Linked DNA regions of Homo sapiens: region 2 is linked to region 1. The links are contacts of gene promoters, found by promoter capture Hi-C in human tissues and cell types (Jung and others, 2019). All regions are on one chromosome and are shown on one strand. Each heading gives the region's core, a stretch centred on a gene start or on the middle of the fragment in contact. The rest is flanking DNA. Distances are from core to core; before and after follow the strand shown. Region 1 holds the start of FANCC (FA complementation group C). Region 2 overlaps ERCC6L2 (ERCC excision repair 6 like 2).

Region 1 (3,566 bases), core at 397-2,896:
CACCAGAAGCCCAATCCCCACCATTACACAATATACCTATGTAACAAGCAAGCACATGTACCCCCGAATCTAAAATTAAAAAACAATCAAAAAGCACCGACTTCCTTAACTGGCATGGAATAGTTTCGAGAATGGATGTAAACACCGAATTCCTTAATGTAGTTGCAGATTCTGCCAGTTTTGTCTCAACCTCTGGATCGGTTCCTTTTTTTAACTACCTTTAATTCTTAAACAGATTGTTGCTATTGCTATGCTATATACTTATTGTATCACTTATAAATGTATAACCTCTGCAAATTAGTCTCTGAATTGAAAGTATTCATTGGTAAAACGGGTATTTCTTCACCATAGGAATAGTTGGACATGTTTAAATACTTGAGAGCTATTTTTATTACAAGCACACACAGCTTTGTGGTGTTTTTTGTTGAGACAGAGTCTCGCTCTGTTGCCCAGGCTGGAGTGCAGTAGTGCGATCTTGGCTTACTGCAACCTTCGCCTCCTGGGTTCAAGCAATTCTCCTGCCTCAGCCTCCTAAGTAGCCGGGAGTACACACTAATTTTTGTATTTTTAGTAGAGACGGGTTTTTGCCATGTTGGCCAGGCTGGTCTCAAACTCTTGACCTCAGGTGATCCACCCGCCTCAGCTTCCCAAAGTGCTGGGATTAGAGGTGTGAGCCACCGCGCCCGGCCTGTAGTGTGTTTTTGAACGTATATGTGAAGTTGTAGCTTTTTTTTTTTTTTTTTTGAGACGGAGTCTCCCTCTGTCGCCAGGCTGGAGTGCAGTGGCGCGATCTCGGCTCACTGCAACCTCTGACTCCCTGGTTCAAGCTATTCTGCCTCAGCCTCCAGAGTAGCTGAGATTACAGGCGCCCGCCACCGCGCCCGGTTAAACGTTTTGTATTTTTAGTAGAGACGGCGTTTCACCATGTTGGCCAGAATGGTCTCGATCTTCTGACCTCGTGATCCGCCCGCCTTGGCCTTCCAAAGTGCTGGGATTACAGGCCTGAGACACAGCGCCCGACCTAAGCTGTAGTTTTATGATTATGATTTATGGTTGTGAGGCATTGATTTAAGACATTTTAAAGCTTAAGTCGTCAGATCCTAGAAGAAAAAAAAATTCACCAAGACAAGCTAATGCCATTGTCATAAATGGGAGTTTGGAGAAAATTTTATTAATATTTGTTTGGGTGGTTTATGTACAGCGTTGAACTGATTTGAACCCCGACCAAACACTGTATGGAACTAATGTACGGTAGGGGAAATCATTAACTGAAGATGCCTTTTTTGTTGCTATTGTTTAGAACGCAGTTAGAAAATCTTATTTTAGAGGTTTTACCCCGTTGACAAAGCCTCAACTTTTCTTCAAAAGAACTAATTTCCATTTTACCTCCCCTACATTTTGAACAGAATATGGAAGAAGCCAGCGCCCCTTCTCCGCGGGCGCTGCTGCAACCCTGCTCCCGCCGGGGCTTCCGCGCGAAACCGGGAACACTGGAGCAGTACCGACTCCGCTCGCCTAGAACCCGCCCCAGCCGGGCCCACTTCCGCCAGAGCCCTGGCCGCGCCCGCCCCGCCCCACGGACCCGAGATTCGTCGGAATTTTCCCGCGACGCCGCGGGAGCGCGCGGGGCCGCTAGCCAGGCCCCAGAATGCACTGCTGACACGTGTGCGCGCGCGCGGCTCCACTGCCGGGCGACCGCGGGAAAATTCCAAAAAAACTCAAAAAGCCAATACGAGGCAAAGCCAAATTTTCAAGCCACAGATCCCGGGCGGTGGCTTCCTTTCCGCCACTGCCCAAACTGCTGAAGCAGCTCCCGCGAGGACCACCCGGTAAGCGGCAGGCCGCAGAACGCAGCGAGGGCGGAGGCTTCCCTCGGGGGTCTGGCCGACACGTCAGCGGCGAGAGCGGGAGGAGGAGGCGAGGGGCAAGAGGGAAGGCTCGCGAGAGCGGGTGGGCCAGGCGCGCCTTGCGGTGGGCGAGAGGGGTTCCCGCCGGCGCAGGGCTGTGGCTAAGGCTGAGGCGGGAGGCGGGAGGCGGGAGGCGGAAGGTGGCGGGCGGTGCCAGCCCGCGGGGCGGGGCCAGGGCGGGGAAAGCGGGGGCGGGAGCCGGCGCTGGGGTCGCGCGGAAGGGAGCCCCCGGAGAGGCGGGAGCCGGGTGTTGGCGTTTTGGTTCTTTTTGTTCATTGAGCGCAGGCAGCTATGTCTTCTTCAAAGGAGAGGAGCAAAGGTGAATTTCTCTGCCTCGGACTCGTGGGAGCCGTGAAAAGCTCGCCCCTTTGAGCCGGTCGCCCTCTACAGCTGGCCTCGTCCTCCCCGTCCCTCACACCCCTGCCCCCAAACCCCATTCGCCGGGGCGCCAGGAGGGGCGAGGTCCAATTAGAGGAGCCCGGGGCGCGGCTGTTACCCCTCCCGCCCTCCGCCTTTTATTCCCGGAGGGAGGCGGGTTCGCAGAGGCCAGTGTCTTCCCTCCATTCTTTTTGTGGACGCCAGGCCATATCTTCAAAGCCCGTGAGAGATTTTTCAGGTGCTGTTTGTTGGTTTGCTCTTTTTAATTTTTTAGGTGGGTGCGTTTACAACTACGAACCCTCTATGATCTTATGTGTCCAGCGCACCGAATGGGGGAAAAGACTTGGAGTTTTATAACATGGGAAATTGGGTACCAGAATCTTAAGGGAAGAGACCAAGGAGTTTTCTAGCAAAGTCCTGTATGTGCCTGGACTTTTGTTCTAATCTGAAACTTGGAAAACTCCCGGGCATCTGATTTTATTCTAACTTGTGCCCCATTTAATGCATCTAAACTGTGATGTGATTTGACTTAGCATTTATCAAATGAGCAGAGCACTTTTGGGCCACCCAACTTCAGCTCTTTGTGGCTGTCACTCACTGTCAGTGATATGCCCTCAGACAGATCGTTTTCTCCTTACTCCCCTGAAAGGTTGTTACAAACAGTAGAATTCATACCATGTGTTGAGATCATTCATTACCTAAGCTTAGATGGAAAACATGTTCATTGCGACTTTATACATTAAACTTGAATTGATGTTTCAATGTTATGTGCTGTACCAGAGTCACCTGGAAATAAGCACTCATATACATTATTCATATACAAGAAAGGCTGCATCGAAAAAGAATTTGTTTTCCTAGATATATCAGAGATCTTTTTCACCAACCCACTACTCCCAGTAATAGAGCCTGCTTCTTGAGAACTGGACTAATTATACTTTGTATATTATACATTCGAATTTATTTTTGCTTTATTCGGTCATATTTTCTCTTGATTTCTCCAAAAACGTTTACCAAGGCATCAGAAAAGAAAAGCAGGCTCTATATTGGTATTTTTTGTTTTGTCCTCTAATAAAAAGCATTAACTTGATTGATTGGCTGGTTGTGGAAGATGTGTTGCTGCATGTATGTGCAACTGTGCATGTACATTTTAAAACAAATGGTACTTTTAACCAGTTCCATATTTCAGCAGGTAGTTCCAATAACAATTATACAAATTTCGTGTTTATGAGAACCAGCTACAGGGAGGCCAGCCTGGCCAGTAGAAAGTTGGATTGATTATCT
Region 2 (3,566 bases), core at 408-2,907, 690 kb before region 1:
AGGGAACCTAGGTCAGTGATTGGTGGTAGGCAAGGTGGATAGAAAGGGTGTCTCTTCCTGACAAGTCAGTCAGGTAATGATGAGTGAGGAAGTCTCCCAGGGGGAGAGGGTGCATGTACAGGCTCAGGTCCAAGATGACCTGGTTCACAGAGGGGCAGGAGAAACTGCAAGGAAGAGGCTAAAAATCATAGGGGGTCCGTAGGCCAAGTTTAGAAGTTTGAATTTTATCCTATGCAAAACAGAGAATCCTTAGCATTAAAAAAATTACTTTTAATGTATGTTAGTAGGAGCTTCAATGCCACTTTTCTTTCTGCCACGTAGACCAGGTTACATAGTTTGTGTTTCCTTTGCTTTTAGGGGCAGACCATAAAGCACACTCACAACTTTCTTTTGTGGCTTCAGATGGGCCTGTGGCTTCTAGTCCTCACTACACTGTCTTGTTAACTTCCCGAAATCCAGATACTATACATGCTTGATCAACAGCCACTTTCATCTCCAACAGAATATTTAGTAACACATACACATGACTCCAACTTTCTGTCCTGGAAATTGCCAATGTTCTTGTTGGAAAGTAACAAGCATGTTCTTAAGAGGTTCCAGTTTTCACTTCACATGAAGTAATGAGATATTATTCTGTCTATTTTTCATCTTCAAATCCATTTTCATGGCCCTTCTATTAAATATTTGTGTTTGTAAAGATTAAGTGATTGGCAAGGTTACAAGCTGATGTCTTTTATTTATCCAAGGCTTGGTGGTGTCTCAGCAACTGCCAAAGTAACTTCACCTCTGCTGTGCTGAAACCACGACCTCACCCGTGACCCTGTGAGCTGTCACCTCTGGGAGGAGAGCTGCTTCTAACCTCATTTTATCTGAGTAGTCTGCAAGTACACTATGCCACATGGTTGCTGCTTACAGGATAAGCTATAATTATCATTCACTTTATTTCTGCCTTTTAACTGGCTTTCCTAATTCTGGGCCTTCAGAATTTTCTCTAAGAATTTAAGGAACTGCAGGGTACAAACAGGGGGCATAAGCCAGCCAGTTTGTGAAGAAAAGTTAGTTAACTAGAGTAGACTTCCATAACCCACTTAGGGAAAGGGGGAAAAAAAGAAACCAAAGATATGTATCTTTCAGCAAGTGTATCAAAAGCAGTTATGTATCATGGATACAATTCAAAATCCTCTCTCTTTCTGGAGGAAGGGAGGTGGAACACACCTAAATTCATCTTCTGTCTGCCTAAGCTTCCGGAAGGAGAGGAGGACTGAACACTTCATTCAGATGATCATGTGACTGCAGTAGAGGGAGGTGCAGTCTTGATTCTGATTGACTAGGACAGTTAATGGAAAAGAGGGTGGTAAAATGTACATGGTTGGACAGTTTTACTTCTACATCCCTAATTGGTAACCAAAGCCAATAAGGCACATAGTGATTGAAACACTTGAACATGCCACTAGAACTCAACGAAGCTGACGAGTCTGTCATCGCTCTGCCCACGGCTCAAGATGCGTATGCAGCATGCTGTACAGCATTGTGTCCATTCCAAAAGCAAACTCCCCGACCACAGCAGGTGCTGTATCAGTCACTTTCACAATGCTGATTGCAACATCTGATCTGGTGCCGGAGCTGAAGGATTTCATCAGGCTGGACAGATCAATTGTTGGAGAGAAAGGCAAAATAAAAATAGCACCATGGTGCATACCTGACTGGAAAAATGGGTAATGTTACCACCAAGTGCAAGGCTGTGAAGGCTGCTTTCTCGCTTATCTATAATGCTGTGTGCAAACCCAGCTGTAACCTGATGCAGCAGATAAACAAAAGATTCAGTGCTCTACTCTCAGCTGTCAAGCCAGGAGGCACCACAACCTCTGTCAAACTCAACCCAGCATGTGACTTCAACGAAGCCGCAGCATGACTAGCTAGCAAGGGTCTTGACATCAAGATAACACGATTACTCTTTCAACTTGGTACCGACCCTAACCTTGGGGTCACTGGGTGTGCCTTCATAAGTCAGTTTAAGCTCATCACAACCTTTTCTGAAATGACCTCATATGTTATAATGTGAAGTTTCATTGAGGAAGGATTCAATCATGCCTCACTGCTCCCTGGTGCAGGTTGTGACATAATGAAATTCATGAGCATTGAAGGACGACTCATTGAGAAACATGGGGAAGAACTTCCATTTCTTAGTCTTCTGACTCAGAGGGCACAAAGAATTAACACCTGCAAAGTTCCCTAATCTCTGTAAGGTCACAAATACATGGAAAAGAAAGCTAGATAATTCACTCAGAGACTACCAGTCAACAAAGGAGTCCCCCTCCAAACTTACTGATCATGAGGTTGAAGAGGCAGCTTCAAAACCACCTTTTAAGAAGGCACTGGTGAGCAAAGAAGATGAAAAAGGACTATAAGCAGCATACAATATATCTAGGGAAGATATTAAAGTTGCACTGACATTGAAGCCCAGAACAGAACAAACCAGTGTCCCAACATGGCTCTTGGAGGCGATCGAGAACAGAGAACGCATGCAAACTTAGGGAAAAAAAGGTATATGGTCAGTCTCCTGGCAAAATATTTGCCCAAAGTGAAAAGGCACACTCTGCAAAAATCCTTGTTGCCGATCTGTTCTGTGGGTAGGTACACTGTGTGGCAGTGTGGAAGGTGGTCACCTTTCTCTGCAACTGCAGAGAGCTGAGAGCCATACTCCAACCAGCCACGCCAGCACTCCAAAGAGCTGCGGGGCCAGCTCTTCCCTGGGCAGCTGAGGAACCAGCTGCCTGGGAGTCGCCAAACCCCTGCAGGAAGTACTTTGAACCCAGAGACATTTCCCACTGCCCCCAGAAGCCAGCAGGACCAGTCCAACCATGCCTCCCATCCCTGTTCACTTCTGTCATCCATTACCACTGGCCTCTCATCTCCTCCTACTGTACATCTTGATCTAATCCAATCCCTCACCCTTCCAAGCCATCCCTCCGTGCCCCTGGAACCAAGAGTCCCCCGAGTCTTCTGCTTCTATGCTGAATGGTCCTGTGCTCTGCTGATATTGCCTCTTCCCATGCGGCCCTTGCAAGGCAAGGCTCTTGCATCTCACAGCTCTCCAACCTCAGGGTTAGTGCTTCTAGACAATGCTGCTTCCAGACCATTCTTTTCTCAGAAAACTCCTTCCCCTCTTTAACATTTATGCCATCCAGCTAAACTGTTCTCTCCTCAATCTTCAGTGACCCCTTCATTGCTTCCTGCTAGCAGCTAAACTCTCAAGATCCTGGATTAATCTTGCTTCCCACCCCATCTCTTGCCATCATTCTTGATAACATCAATATCCATGTGGATGTCCCACCCATATCTGGCCCACCACTTTCTTTAGCTCACCTCCAAACTCATCTTAACTCCATGTTAGCCCCTACTCCCAAGTTTATAAATTGCCATTGTCATTACCATCAACAGCTCAACCTCCATGTCCCTGACTTAGTCATCTAAGGCTCCAGCTCAGCTGCTTGATGACTGCCCACAACAGCAATGCTGGGGGATATGCTGGTAACCTCAAGTCCTCAAATTCACTGACTCTTGTG

What was found. Contacts are between HindIII fragments. The study calls those that stand out against the background at their distance.
Region 2: a contact is called between a fragment that was not itself captured here and the fragment with the promoter of FANCC in region 1, in 1 of the 25 tissues and cell types used here (dorsolateral prefrontal cortex).

What each region holds. Positions count from the first base shown.
Region 1 is chr9:95,315,789-95,319,354 of GRCh38, reverse strand. FANCC (FA complementation group C) reads left to right here and starts at 1,646. Exons shown (of 15, transcript NM_000136.3): 1 at 1,646-1,829. RefSeq lists a silencer at 1,975-2,294. The HindIII fragment of the contact is 11,527 bases long and covers 1-3,566 here.
Region 2 is chr9:96,007,127-96,010,692 of GRCh38, reverse strand. All of the region lies in intron 18 of ERCC6L2 (ERCC excision repair 6 like 2), which reads right to left. Among named protein-coding and RNA genes, the nearest start is that of LINC00092, 13 kb to the left of the region's middle. The HindIII fragment of the contact is 4,239 bases long and covers 1-3,566 here.